Linked DNA regions of Homo sapiens: region 2 is linked to region 1. The links are contacts of gene promoters, found by promoter capture Hi-C in human tissues and cell types (Jung and others, 2019). All regions are on one chromosome and are shown on one strand. Each heading gives the region's core, a stretch centred on a gene start or on the middle of the fragment in contact. The rest is flanking DNA. Distances are from core to core; before and after follow the strand shown. Region 1 holds the start of TST (thiosulfate sulfurtransferase). Region 2 holds the start of BAIAP2L2 (BAR/IMD domain containing adaptor protein 2 like 2).

Region 1 (7,229 bases), core at 2,364-4,863:
TCTATCTTTCCTGCATACCAGAGACAGTGCACCAGCTCGCCAGCCCACTATGCCAGGCCAGCCCACAGCCTTCCTGGGTGTAAACTTCCCAAACACTTTAAGCCCTTTGTGCTGGGAAGCCACCGTTGTGCAGGTGAGAGGAAAGGGCCCCTTCTGCCAGGCAGAGGCTGAGCCCCCACCAGGGCACATGGCTGGGTGTGTGGAGTATGGGCTGCAGATCAGCCCTCACTTATCCCCTGTGTGAGGCCCAACCTTGACACCCACTGCATGCAGTCCTGCCAGCGAAATGAAGGGGGCAGGTAGAGAACAACATCTGTGGACCGAGTGCCTCTGTGGGCCAGGTCACATGCTAGGCACCGCAGCCTTGGGCGGGTATTAGGACGCCTGCTTTATGAATGAGGCCACTGGCAATTAGAAGAATAAGTGCCTTGCCCGTGGTCACAGGAGGCAGCCTCAGGATTTGCAGCCAGAATTTGACCCCTCAGGCTGGACTTCCCCTGCCCCAGGTGCCATGATGACCAGGGCCTAATGAGTTCTAGGGTGACACCCTGTGCCCACCCCCACAGTCTGGCCGCAGCTGGCTTTTAGGAACCTACTTCACCCATGCGGTCAGGCCTTGTGCCGGACACCGAGGCACTCTTGCCTTTGCCAAGCCCTGGGGGGAAACGTCAGGCTGCAGGCAAGAGAGAGTGAAATTGAGGATAGTTTAGAATTCAGTGTTGAGCACAGAGGGCCCCTATGTTTGCCTGGGGTGGCAGCAGAAGAGGTGGGAAGGCTTCCTGGAGTAGGAGGAAGTCCAGACTAATCTGACTTTTCCAGGGGCCCAGGAAGCCTCAGCACGGTCTTTAGGGTAGGGAGGCTGCCAAGGGGTGTTTGGCTAAGGGGTGATCCCCATTATCTGCGTTACAGCACAGCTAGGGGGCGCTGTGCTGGCAGATGCTGCAGGTTCCTTCCTGAGGAACCCTATTGTGGGAACCACAGCAGCCCCTGTGCACCCCCAAACACTGTCCCCTATTCTTGAGGATCCTTGTTTCCCTCACCCAATCATCCATTTACAGTAGAAAGAGCCCTGGTTTAGGAGCCAGAGAGCCCCCCAAATCAATGTAAACCCCACTCCACTGCTTAACTGGTTGTGTGATGTGGGTGTGTAGGGTCTCTGGGTGGTTTCTGTTCCTTATAATGGAGCTTCTCACCTCCACCTCTTAGAGCCAAGATTAAACAATAAATGTAGAGGGGCAACCACCATGCATTACATCTGGCTGGTTTTAATAATCATTAAAAACGGTTTAGGTCGGGCGTGGTGGCTCACACCTGCAATCCCAGCACTTCGGGAGGCCAAGGCGGGCGGATAACGAGGTCAAGAGTTCAAGACCAGCCTGACTAACATGGTGAAACCTCATCTCTACTAAAAATACAAAAATTAGCTGGGCATGGTGGCATGAGCCTGTAGTCCCAGCTACCCGGGAGGCTGAGGCAGGAGAATCGCTTGAACCTGGGAGGCAGAGGTTACAGTGAGCCGAGATCGCGCCACTGCACTCCAGCCTGGGCAACAGAGTGAGACTCCATCTCAAAATAATAATAATAATAATAATATTGCATTATTTCTTCCATTACTCTCATTGGTGGCCCTGGAACTGCCAGCAGCAAATCTAAAATCTTAGAATTTCAGGGCTTGGTGGGACTTCAGAGATCTGAGGTCACCCTGCCCCAGTCTCCCTGCTTGATTGGCACTTCTCACAAAGGTCTGTGGGCCATAAAGGAGGGTGTGAAGGCAGGCTGTGGGTGTCAGGGAGGGGTAGAAACCAGGTGCCTGTGTGATTCAGAAGCCGGGATCACTGTAGGTGAGGGTGCCCTGGGAGTGGAGGACCCCAGGACGTAACCGCCCCAGGCTCATGTCAGAAGGATACACAGCTGCACTGAAGCAAGCGTGAGCCGCAGGCTGGATCCAGGGTACCCCTTGAGGAGCAGAGCTTGGGAGCTCCTCTTGGACCTCCCCAGCCTGGTCCCTCCTGCCCACCCCCTCCCCCAACCACCAGACACTAGGCTTTGAGGATTGCTGTGAGCATTTTAGAACAAAACCTTTTTTTAAAAAGAGGGATGAGGCCAGGGATGGTGGCTCATGCCTGTAATCTCAGCACTTTGGGAGGCTGAGATGGGCAGATCACTTGAGCCCAGGAGTTCAAGACCAGCCTGGACAACATGGTGAAACCCCATCTCTACCAAAAATTTAAAAATTAGCCGGGAATGGTGGCACATGCCTGTGGTCCCACCTACTTGGGAGGCTAAGGTGGGAGGATCGCTTGAGCCTGGGAGGCGGAGGTTGCAGTGAGCTGAGATGGCGCCACTGCACTCCAGTCTGGGCCACAGAACCACAGCCTGTCTCAAAAAACAAAACAAAACAAAAGGTCAGGGTTGGGAAACAGGGAAAGCTTCCAGGCTGGCCTCTGCAAAAGCTAGGGAGGGGCAATGGTGTCCCCCAGTTTGCAAGAGCCCATGGCGAGCTTTTCAGGAATTTTGCCAACTGGTTGTTAAATACAGCTATTATTAAAAATTGAATTACATCAACTTATGATTAAACGGGCTAAGTTCAAAACAGGCAATTTTTTAAAAAGCATGAACCTTCAGGGAAGAGCCAGGTAAACAAAGGCAGCTGGTACCACGTGGGCTTCAGACCAGGGATCAGGCCCGGCCTCAACTCTGGGTGTGTCCTCCAGCAACTCGCTCTGCCGCTCTCTCCTGTCTTAGTAAGTTTCTGGCCTACTCCTCAGGGTTATTGTGGGAATTAAGTCACACCACGGGAGTACCCAGCAAAGTGCCACACCAAGCAGGGCTGGACAATGTTAGTTCCTTTCACTCACTAACAAGTTATTGGCTAGTGTCTCTTCCTGGGGCCTCTGGGTCAGCGGGGTCTCGTCTCCCTGTCCTCCTCTCTCTCCCCCGCCCTCTCTGGTGCCACCAGGTCACCCACTTCCACCCAAGGCTCCCCACCCGCCACTCGCCACGACCCCACCCGGCAGGCCGCCCCAAGCGGACAGTCACCCTTAGTGCCAACGTAGCGGCGCGCCTTCTCTCCTAGACTAAGCCCCCTCTTCCGCCCAGGTCCCGCGCGGGAGCCCCGCGCCGAGCACCCCCAAAGAGCCACTCCCTCCCCCTCCAGAAAGGCAAGCCGCCACGCCGCGGCAGTTACCCGGGTCTCGGACTCCCGGCTTCCTGGCTCCGCCATGGCCCCCGCGGCGCGGCGCCCCCTCCCCGCGCCCGCAGCTGTCCCCTCCTCCCGCCACCAACCTGCAGCGGACCAAAGGGAGGAGACTCCGGCACAGCCCACCGCCGCGGCCACTCGGAGCCGCTGCTGCCCGCGCCTTCCACTGGCCGGGCCGTGGGGGTACGCCCGCTCCGCCCAGCCCAGGCCCGCGCGGCCCCCGCGCCACCCGGCGTCCCCCTCAGACCCCCGCGGGTCCCGGAGGCCCCGCGCGCGAGGTTGGCAGGTGCCGGGCGCGAAGCGGCCGCGCGGGGGAGGCGCGGGATGGCGGCGGGCGGCGCAGGGTCCCCCTCTGGCGGTGGCGCGATGGTGCGCGCCGCCTGGGGAGCTGCGGCCGGGGGTTTGAACCGGCCAACTTCTCCAGCCGGCCGGGGCGAGCGCCAGCGCGGCGTCCGGGGCGAGTGAGTGCGGGGCGGGGGCAGCGGCCGGGCGCCTGGGCCGCCGGTCGGGCCACCTGCTGCCCGGGGAAGGATAGCGTTGCGAGAGTGGGACGGGGTGCCCCGGGAACCCCTGATCCACCTAGGGCAGAGGGCAGCGAGCTACGGGCCGGACTCGGGCACTCTGGAGGCGGGCGAGCTCGGGCTGCCTGGGGAGGCCGCAGGCGATGGCGTGTGCGCGGCTCGCGGAGCTTCCTAGCCGTGCGCCCACCCCCTCTGCCTTGGAAGGAAAGGGGATTCTAAGCCCAAGATGCCATCGCCCCCCATCCCGGGCATGCTTTCATTGCTCTTTCCTGGCGGGATCGAGTACTGTAACTTCTAGGAGCCAGATCCCCGCCCCAGGAAGCGCCCCTACTTGGAGTCCTCGGAAACTCTTGCCCCACCCGCTTCTGCGCTGGGCCCCCGGGCCGGCTGGGAGGGGCGGGGCCGGCTTTCCAGAGGGAATCTGCAAACTTATCCCGCTGCACGCCCCAGCCTCGCTGGCTTGCTGTAAACAAGGAACCCGGGGGAGTGCGGAGGGAGAAAGAGCTTCTCCCAGGCCTCACCCTACTGCACACACCGACTTCCTTCCTCACGCCTGTCTCTCTTTCCTGGTTCCCACCCGTGCCAGGTGACACGCAGAGCTGAAGCCATGGTTCATCAGGTGCTCTACCGGGCGCTGGTCTCCACCAAGTGGCTGGCGGAGTCCATCAGGACTGGCAAGCTGGGGCCCGGCCTGCGGGTGCTGGACGCGTCCTGGTACTCACCAGGCACCCGAGAGGCCCGCAAGGAGTACCTCGAGCGCCACGTACCCGGCGCCTCTTTCTTTGACATAGAAGAGTGCCGGGACACGGCGTCGCCCTACGAGATGATGCTGCCCAGCGAGGCTGGCTTCGCCGAGTATGTGGGCCGCCTGGGCATCAGCAACCACACGCACGTGGTGGTGTATGATGGTGAACACCTGGGCAGCTTCTATGCTCCCCGGGTCTGGTGGATGTTCCGTGTGTTTGGCCACCGCACCGTATCAGTGCTCAATGGTGGCTTCCGGAACTGGCTGAAGGAGGGCCACCCGGTGACATCCGAGCCCTCACGCCCAGAACCGGCCGTCTTCAAAGCCACACTGGACCGCTCCCTGCTCAAGACCTACGAGCAGGTGCTGGAGAACCTTGAATCTAAGAGGTTCCAGCTGGTGGATTCAAGGTCTCAAGGGCGGTTCCTGGGCACCGAGCCGGAGCCGGATGCAGTAGGTAGGTGTCCCAGTGCTGGGTGGTCCCTGGGGAGTATTGCCCCATGGAAGGATAGGGAGTAAGGATGACTGGGACCCTCTCCAGGGTCCGTCCCATGCCTTCAATCCTCCCATGTAGGCCTCAGTCTTTCCATCGATAAAACCAGAAAGTGGAGACAAACCTAAAGGCTTTTTCAGCTTGGATGCACAAGGACCCAAGAATGTGTCCTCATAGCCATGTGCTAAGAAGCCACCTAGCATCTGTGTGAGCAGAAGTCACTGGTGACATGTCCACCACCTCCACTCCCAGGCACCAGCTGCCCCACATGTACTAGGATATACCTAAGGGTGTCATGCCCCTGAGCCAGCGTTTGCATTGCTGTACAGAAACCTCCCACGGACACATCCAGCTTCTCCAGGCCTCTCTCGTCCCGCAGAAACCCTTATAGACATCAACAGTGTCCCTCCCCGCAGGATCCCCCTCTCCCCAAATCTAGCTCTCCTGGGGCCCCTGCCTGCTGTTTGCAAAGGTTCCATAACCTTTCCAGGCAGCTGCAGCCCGTCGGCAGAGTTGTAACAGCAGCTGCCATTTCATGCCAGACACTTGGCACCGCATTATCTCAGCGAACAAAGCTCAATGCCCCTGTTTTGGCAGCGGGGGGTGGGGGGACTGAGATGCCAGGACATAAAGTGGTGGAAGGCAGGATTCGAATCCAATGCTGCCTTGTTTCAAACCAGGGCTATAAACCAGGACGCACCCAATGCTGCCCTACCCCTACTTCCCAGGGCCAGGAGGGAGTCCCCTCTGCTAGTTGCCCCAGGAAGGCGACTCAGAAGTTCCCCTCCTGTGGAAGGGAAGGCCAGGTGGATTGGATACTGCTTGAGGGTTGGGGAGAGCCTCAGGAGAGGAAATGCTGAGTTCTAGAACCTCCTAGCCAGACAGAACCTCGGAGGTCTTCCCTTTTCTAGAGGCAGGACTGCCGTCTCGCTGCCATCACTCCTGCTGAGTGCCCTCCAGTCCCTGCCTGGCCATTTCCAGGAGCAGGGCCCTCTCTTGTCTCTGGGCACCTCCTTGGTGGCTCTTTCCTCAGTCAGAGCTCCTTCTCTACAGAATCTAACTCGTGTGCAACATTTTGCCTGACTTGTTGAAAAACATCTCTTCCTGTCTGTACCTCCTACAGAGAGAATGCTGGGAAAACTGTTCTGCACACTCTTAGAGCTGGAGGGCCTGAACGGTGACCTCACCTGACAGAGGGGAGACTGAGGTGCACAGAGGCAGGGGCCAAGGCCGCATAGCTAGTTAGTGACAGAGCCAGGACAGCAGGGTCTCTGCCCTTTCCAGCGCAGCTTTTTCCAGGCCCCATATTTTTCTTGCCTGCTTGCTCTCTGAAGGTCTGGAGTTGAAGATTCAAGTTCATTTGGCACCTCCCAGAGAATCCTGGCTGGGAACGCCTGCAGCCCTCTCCTGGCCTTGGTTCAAGACGCCTCTTCTCCTTGGGATTTAAGCTGTCATGGGGGAGGATCAGTGGAATTGGTTCTCTTGCTGCTTCCCAGCCTGCCCTGAAGCAACCTAAGAAATAAGTGGAAGGGACAGCTTGGAGGTGCCAGGCCCAATGTCCTCACCCATTTTACAGATGAGGAAACTGAGGCTCAGAGGAGGAGAATGGCCTGCAGTGGGTAATGCCTCCTGAAGGCCCGGGATGCTGAAGTTCCTCCTCTGTAATTGTGTTCACACCTCCTTCAGTTTCCCTCAGGAGCATCAGGGAACATGGATTCTCATTTCAGCTCAGCCACTCCTCCTTGGAGTGACCTCAGTCCAGTTGCTTGGCCTCTCTGGGTTTCCTTATCATAAAATGAGAAGAGTCACGCCAGCCCTACCCACATGAGTATGCATTTGTTTAAATGTAGCAGTGGCGGCCGGGCGTGGTGGCTCACGCCTGTAATCCCAGCACCTTGGGAGACCAAGGTGGGCGGATCATGAGCTCGGGAGTTCGAGACCAGCCTGACCAACATGGTGAAACCCCGTCGCTACTAAAATGAAAAAAAAATTAGCCAGGCGTTGGTGGTACGTGCCTGTAATCCTAGCTACTTGGGAGGCTGAGGCAGGAGAATCGCTTGAACCCGGGAGGTGGAGGTTGCAGTGAGCCAAGATCGCGCCACTGCACTCCAGCCTGGGCAACAGAACAAGACTCTGTCTCAAAAAAAAAAAAAAAAAAAAAAAAAAGTAGCAGTGGCTGGAAAGGGATTTCAAGAAGGGTAAGGAACGATACAAATCCTGGAGGGTGTGGCACTTCCCCCCCAACCCCCTCCTCCAAGAGGCTTTGCTGGC
Region 2 (7,229 bases), core at 234-2,733, 1.1 Mb before region 1:
CCCTGAGGGTCCCCAGCCTCTCACCGGCCCCAGCTGACCTCGTCCATTCAGCCCCTGCCAGGCCAAGCCCAGCCACTGCCCTCCCGGGCAGATCTGGGCCCAGGCACCTCTGAGTCCATAGACCAGGCCTGGGAGAATGCCAAGCTGCCTGCCCGAGGCTGGTCCTGAAGGCCTGTCTCCCACTAACCCCGCCTTCCAGCACTTTCTGTCATTCCAGGCTGGGAAAGTCTAGAGCCCCCTTTGGCCCCTTTCCCTGACTGTCAAGGACAACTGACTCCCCCATCAGCTCAAACATTAAGGGTACCCGGGCACAACCGTACCCCTGCCCCCAGCCCCAGCCTCCCTGAGGGCCTGCCGGGCTGCCTCTGCCCCAGCCCCCAGCAAGGGCACTCCCAGGCTTCCTGGTGGGTGCAGCCCACTCCCTCTGCCCTCTGCTCCGTTCCCTGGGGGCTGGGACTAAAGAAATGGGTGTCCCCCACCCCATCAGCTGGGAAAGCCCAGGCCGCAGGAGTGGGATGCCCGTTGGACTTTGCCCCTCACACTGGCCCAGCCCCTCACACTGCCCCACCCCGAGAACCCTCAGCTCTCAAAGGTCACTCCTGGGAGTTTCTTCTTCCCAATGGAAGTGGCTTAAGAGCCAAAACTGAAATAAATCATTTGGATTCAAGTTCACCTGTGTTGTGTGTGCAGTGGTGTGAGATCCACCTGTTCCCCTGACCCCCGGCTCCCCTCGGCCTTGACCCTTGGCCTTGACCGGACTTTTCCTTTGTACCCGGACACTCTGTTTTCCAGGATCCCTGGGCAGGGACACCTCCTCTTTCCTCTAGGCCTCCCCTAAACCGGCCCTTAGGGTATGCAGAGGCAGCTGCCAGGCCCACATACCCCCGGCAGGCCCAAGGAGGGCCACAATCTTCAACTTCATCTTGGAGGACCAGGGAGAGCCCCATTTGTCACCCAGAGAGGCCGGGGACTCCGCGTGGACAGGCAGCGCGTGTGCAGGGCCGAGGTCTGCCCAGGGCTGGGCAACTCCAGCGTTTGTGCTGCTCCTGCTCCGGCAAGTGGAGGAGCTGGGCGGGCCAGAGCGGCTGTGGGAGCCAAGCTCAGAGGGCGTGGCCCCACTGTGAGCCGCAGGCCTGAGGACAGTGAGAAGTAAAGCGGCGTTCCCCTCCAGGGGCTGCTGCTGCTGGGTCTGGCAGAGAGAGTCCTGGGGGAGGGCATCGGGCAGCGCCCGCCCAGTAAGGTGGGCAATGCCTGGTATAGGCAGGTGGGAGGGCGGGGCCCCCCAGGGTTGGGGTCCTTGAGGAGGGGGTGACCCAGGAGGGGGCTCATCCACATGGGCACTTGTATCAGCCCACAGCTCCAAGGGGTGAATAATTGAAGGGCAGGTCACACGAGCCTGCCCGGCACAGGATGCCTTCCCTGCCGGATCTGGTTACGCCCCAGATCACATTCTGACATCCCGAGTTGGTGAATAATTAAGCTGCCACTCCTCTGAGGCAGGCCTCCATCTCCAGGTCCCTCTCCGAGGCTTCCTCGCTGCCAGCTGAGTCGTGGGCACCTGAGGGACTACCTACCACTGCTCCCGGCTGTGCCATCGCCACCAGCTCCCAGCCTCCTGCTCAGACCCGGGACAGCCCCTCCATGGCCCCCGAGATGGACCAGTTCTACAGGTCCACCATGGCCATCTACAAGGTGAGCACATGGGTGGCCAAGCCAGGCCTGAGCCCCTCCTCCCAGGGCACAGAAATCAGGCCCGCTCTGGAGGACGGAGGGCCAGCCGGGGCTACAGATGTCCTGGAAAGGGAAGCCTGGAGCCAGGCTGGGCCAGGGGTGGGTACGGGGGTAAGGATCCCCGAGAGCACTCAGCCATACAGCGGGAACCCCCAACTCCCAGATGCTGGACAAGGCAGGAGGGAGCCCAAGGCCCAGGGTGGGGAGAGTTGAGTCTGGATGAGAAGGGCCTGGCTGCCCGGCCTGGGAATAAAGAAAGACCCTCCCTCTCTCTCTCTGTCTCTCCCTCTCTCTCTCTCTCTCTCTCTCTCTCTCCCTCTCTCTCTCCCTCTCTCTGTCTCTCTCTCTCTCTGTCTCTCTCTCTCTCTGTCTCTCTCTCTCTCTCTGTCTCTCCCTGTCTCTGTCTCTCTCATTTCTGAGCCCCTCAGACTTCCTACTTCACCCCCGGGGGGTTGTTGCAGCCGCCACAGACATTTATTGAGCGCCTCCTGTGTGCAGGACCCTTTCACCTGGAGGCCTCACACCACCCACCTGTGAGGTGGAAAATGACCACCCTGCTTGATAGATGAGAAAACTGAGACCAAAGAGGTTAAACAGCTCATTCAAGGTCACGGAGGGAGGAAGAGGTGCTGCTGGGATTTGAACCGAGACCCAAGTCCAAGTCCAGGCCCAAGTCCAGGCCCGTCTTCACCATCCGGGGAGCTCTCTGCCCGGCCCCAGCCCGAGGAGGCCCACACTAATCCAGCCACAGCCTTGCCCATGGGGGGCTGTTCTCGGAGGAGGGCGAGAGCTGCCCTTGCCCCGGGGGTGACTGTTGGCAGCCCCAGGCGTGTAGCCCGGCAAGGCCTGGACACAGGGCAGGGCTGAGCCGTGCCCAGTGGGGACCACAGCAGGCGGGCCAGCTTCTGCCCAGCGGGAGGAGGAGAACCTTCCAGGTGCACCATCTCGGGAGGCACCTCGGTCCCGCCAGAGCAGACGTAAGCGGGAGCTGGCTGTGAGGGGACCACAGCTTAGAACAGGACCCCAAAAGATGGGCTCTGAGGTCCCTGCAGCCAAGAGCCAGGATTCTGGGTGAGCCTAGGTTTGTAGATGGGCCCCCCAAAGTCTGGGGCTTCTCACTGGGCTGGGGGTGCCCTGTCCCTGACGCCTGGTGACTTGACTCCATCCGTGGTTCCTTCTCGCTCCCCCATCTCTACACCTTTTTCCTCCCCTGACCCTGGGGTCCAGAGCATCATGGAGCAGTTTAACCCCGCCCTGGAGAACCTGGTGTACCTGGGCAACAACTACCTGCGTGCCTTCCACGGTGAGTGCCTGCCCGGGCCACCGAGCCCCAGCCCTGGGCCTCTGCTGTTCCCACCCACCCAGGCCCCTCCCAGATTCTCTGCATCCCACACCTGTTCATCCTCAACCCTACACCCTCCTACCCACCACCCTCACCCTCACACCTCTGCAGCCAGAGAGGCCTTATGCACCCCCACTCTCCTGTGCCCACGCACCCCAGTCCACACCCAGCACCCCTCATTGCCCCCTCCTTCAGGTGCCTCCAGACACTCCCATGATGCAGTACCAGGCCCTGCAGGCCCACACAGCCCCAGGGCAGCCCCTGACAGTGCATACATTTCTAGGCGTCACCTGGATGCCACCAGCTGAACCCACCCCTATACTCAGTCCCACCTCTGCACCCAGGCTCACACAGCAGCTGGCTTCCTCACTTCAACTGGCCACCACCCACACACCCTGCAGCTGGCCTTGACATTCACTCGGTCCCCGTGCAAACCCTTGTACCCGTCCGCTGTGGCCGCTCATACCTGCCAATAGCACCCCACTACCCACCAGTGCTGATCAACCCTGAACCTCAGGGCCTCCCATCCCCCTGCTTCTTAGATGCTTTCCACGCCACCTCCCTGCCCCCAGCCCTCACCTTATGCCCCTGCACCTGAGTTTCACAGCTCAACTGGTCACACCCTCCTCAGGGGCACACACAGATGCCCACACCCCACCCAGGACAGACACAGTCCCCTCCAGATGAAAAGAGCCTCCAGAAGGGTGGGGCAGAGGCAGGGCTGGACCAGACCTGTCCCTTCTGGTCCACAGCTCTGTCCGAGGCGGCCGAGGTCTACTTCAGTGCCATCCAGAAGATTGGGGAGCGTGCCCTGCAGAGCCCCACCTCACAGATTCTGGGTGAGGCTCCCCCTCCACAGCAGACCCCATTCTTGGGCCCTCCTTTTGCACCCTTGCCCTTCCAGGATGTCCCGAGTCCCTGACACAGGCCTTTCAGCCCAGGGCCCAGAGCCAGACTCTTGTTCTGGGGCCCAGGCTCCCCGCCACCACTCCCTGCCGGGCTGCTCCCAGGCTGGGACACACATGGCCTGGCTCCCAGAGAACCATATGGGAAGTTCCCGGACTTTGGTCCCAAAATCCAGTCTCGGGCAGGCCCTCTGTTGGCTTTCAGCGGAAGAGGGTGGTGGGTGGGCGGGGCAGGCTGCCACACACCAAAGCCACAGCTGCATCCATGCCTCCAGGGGAGATCTTGGTGCAGATGTCTGACACCCAGCGGCACTTGAACTCTGACCTGGAGGTGGTGGTGAGTATCAGGCCCCAGGGCCTGGAGGGGTCACTCGAGGAAAGTGGGCTATGTTCCAAGGAGAGGGCCCAGCCTACCAGATGCCCTTCCCAGGGAGGATGACCGTGGCTGCCCTTCCCAGCACCCGGCTCTGTGGGGCACGGTTCCCTGCAATAGTCGTTCAAGCCTCTAGCAGCCCTAGGAGGCTGGTGGCATTTCTGCCTCCATTTTATAGAGGAAGAAACTGAGTCTCAAAGAGCTAGTCATTGCCTGAGATGCCAGAGTGAATGGAGGCCCAAGGAAGAGAAAGGTCCTTTCACTGCAGCCCTCCTCACTGCAGCCTCCCAGGGAGCAGCCACATGGACCTGACCATGTCACTCCCAGGAGCAGAACCGTTCCACGGCCCCACTGCCCGTAGAACTGAACACAGGCTTCTCAGTGAGGGGTCCCTGGCTCTGTCGATCCAGCAGCTTCTCCTGACACCCCCAACACAGCCCAGCCCCCCGGAAGAGTGGGCCCTCTGCTGGTGTCCCCGCTGCGGGGCTGCTGTCCTGCTGTCCTCTCAGCCTAGAGCCACCGGTCCCTCCCCCTGCCGTCCAGTTGGGAAGCAGCTGTCCCCTCCTTCCCAAAGCCTCCTCTGACTCCCTGGGGCAAGTCCAGTCACCCCTCCCCCTGGACTCCAACAGATGATTCTGTCCGTTCTTAGCTCGTGGTGGGTTCAAAGCCCAGCTTCACCAGTGACTAGTTTTGTGACCTTGGACTCTATGCCTCCACTTACCTATCTGAGGAATGGAGAGAATCATAATAACTGCCTCCCAGGGTTCTTGAGAGGATGACGTGAATTAATAAGCATAAACCGTTTGCCCTGGCCCCTACTTACTGCCCCTGGATACCTTAGCTATGATAACCAGAAGTTAACTCACCTGCCCCTATCCCTCCCAAGACTGGGAGCGCCGCAGAGCCTTCCTTCCTCTCCGTAGCTCCAGGGCCTTCCGCCAAGCAGGGCTTCAGTGACACAGGGGAAAGAAAAGAGCTGAGGGAGTCAGCTTGGCTAGATGGAGAGAAGAGAGGGCTTTCCAAGGGAGCATGGCAGCGGGCTGCGCACAGCCATGAGCGGGCAGCAGGCAGGCATGAGCCAGGGCTTGGGCGCAGGGGCTGAGTGGGAGAGGTGGGGTGGGGCCTGGTGGTGAGGCAAGTGGGAAGGTTCGGAAGGAAATTTTAACTAATTGTTCTCCCTCCAATGTGTGAAGGGGAGCCCCTGGAAGTCAGGGTGCTCTTTGGGGGATACCATAAAATACTAGTCAGTTGGGCATGGGGAACAATCTTTTTTTTTTTTTTTTTTTTAATTTTTTTGAGACGGAGTCTTGCTCTGTCGTCCAGGCTGGAGTGCAGTGTCACAATCTCAGCTCACTGCAACCTCCGCCTCCTGGGTTCATGCCATTCCCCTGCCTCAGCCTCCCGAGCGGCTGGGATTACAGGCACCTGTCATCATGCCTGGCTAATTTTTTTATTTTTTTGCAGAGACGGGGTTTCACCATGTTGGCCAGGCTGGTCTTGAACTCCTGACCTCAAGTGATCTGCCCGCCTCGGCCTCCCAAAGTGCTGGGATTACAGCCGTGAGCCACCGCGCCTGGCGGGGGAACAATCTTTCTATTAGTAAATGCACATCCCACGCACACACAACAAGGCCCCAAGGCCCCTGGGCTCCGTGGACTCCTTGGGCACTTTAGGATGTAGCATTAAGCCCCTGCCACCCCCTTGGATGTGGGCACGGAGTTATGGAGCCTGTGGGTTCCTGTCCTTGTGTTCAATGGCTGTCCTTGTCACTTGTGGCACACCTGGGCTGGGCAGGGATGAGTGTCACCCAGGCCCACTCTGTAAGGAGAGCTGTCCTCTCCAGGCAGTGGCATCTCAGCTGTGATAACTGGGCAGGTCCACTGGCCAGAATCATACCAGACAGAACAGTGCCAGAGGCCACCCCCACCTGCAGCTCATTTATTTGATCCCTACTGACTGCCCTGTGCCAGGCACTGTGGTAGGCCGCGGGAATACAGCAGACAAAAACCCCTGCCATGCCAAAGAGGGAGCCAGAAAAACCCACAGTGAGTAAGTGAATCGATACGTAACACGTTCCATGCAAAATACACTAGGAGAAAAGTAGAGCAGGGAGGGGATGTCTTTGGGGGGTGCAGTTTTTAACAGACGAGGTGACACTGAAAAAGGCCTAAAGGTCCCGGCGCAGTGGCTCACGCTTGTAATCCCAGCACTTTGGGAGGCCGAGGTGGGCGGATCACCTGAGGTCAGGAGTTCGAGACTAACCTGGCCAACATGGTGAAACCTTGTCTCTACTAAAAATACAAAAAATTAGCCGCGCATGTGGTGGCGGGCGCCTGTAATCCCAGCTACTCGGGAGGCTGAGGCAGGAGAATCGCTTGAACCTGGGAAGCGGAGGTTGCAGTGAGCAGAGATCGCACCACAGCACTCCAGCCTGGGTGACGGTGAGACTCTGTCTCAAAAAAAAAAAAAAAAAAAAGAAAAGAAAAAGGGCTGAAGGAGGTAAGGGCATTAGCCAGGAATACATCTGGGGGAAGGGCAATCTGGACAGAAAGGACAGCTTGTGGAAAGACCGAAGGCTGCAGTAGAGGGCAAGTCTCAGATGACCAGCCATTAACAGGTCCTGACTCTGCAGGCCCTGGCGGGACTCTGGCCCTTCCTCTCAGTGAAAGGGACACCTTCGGAGGGTCTTGAGCCAAGGAGGGACAGGATCTGACTTAGAATGTTTTAAAAAATGTTTGTTATTGTAAACTAAAACACAGGCACAGAAAATCTTGCTGAACAGATTAGAGCGTAATGAATCATTATTAGGCAAACCAGACCTGAAACTACCATGCAGAACTTTGCCAGCCTCCCCAGAAACCCCTTCAGGTGCCCCCAT

Evidence for each region. Contacts are between HindIII fragments. The study calls those that stand out against the background at their distance.
Region 2: a contact is called between the fragment with the promoter of BAIAP2L2 here and the fragment with the promoter of TST in region 1, in 1 of the 25 tissues and cell types used here (heart right ventricle).

The regions. Positions count from the first base shown.
Region 1 is chr22:37,015,831-37,023,059 of GRCh38, reverse strand. It overlaps TST (thiosulfate sulfurtransferase), which reads left to right and starts at 3,613. Exons shown (of 3, transcript NM_003312.6): 1 at 3,613-3,660; 2 at 4,307-4,922. The coding sequence starts at 4,328. It overlaps MPST (mercaptopyruvate sulfurtransferase), which reads right to left and starts at 3,318. Exons shown (of 3, transcript NM_021126.8): 1 at 3,188-3,318. The coding sequence starts at 3,223. RefSeq lists silencers at 3,002-3,321, 3,332-3,451, 3,482-3,871, 4,032-4,091 and enhancers at 3,565-4,066, 4,095-5,070. The HindIII fragment of the contact is 8,246 bases long and covers 25-7,229 here.
Region 2 is chr22:38,104,938-38,112,166 of GRCh38, reverse strand. It overlaps BAIAP2L2 (BAR/IMD domain containing adaptor protein 2 like 2), which reads left to right and starts at 1,483. Exons shown (of 14, transcript NM_025045.6): 1 at 1,483-1,692; 2 at 2,959-3,034; 3 at 3,826-3,912; 4 at 4,254-4,315. The coding sequence starts at 1,642. PLA2G6 (phospholipase A2 group VI) reads left to right here. Exons shown (of 17, transcript NM_003560.4): 17 at 1-672. The coding sequence ends at 6. The HindIII fragment of the contact is 15,386 bases long and covers 1-7,229 here.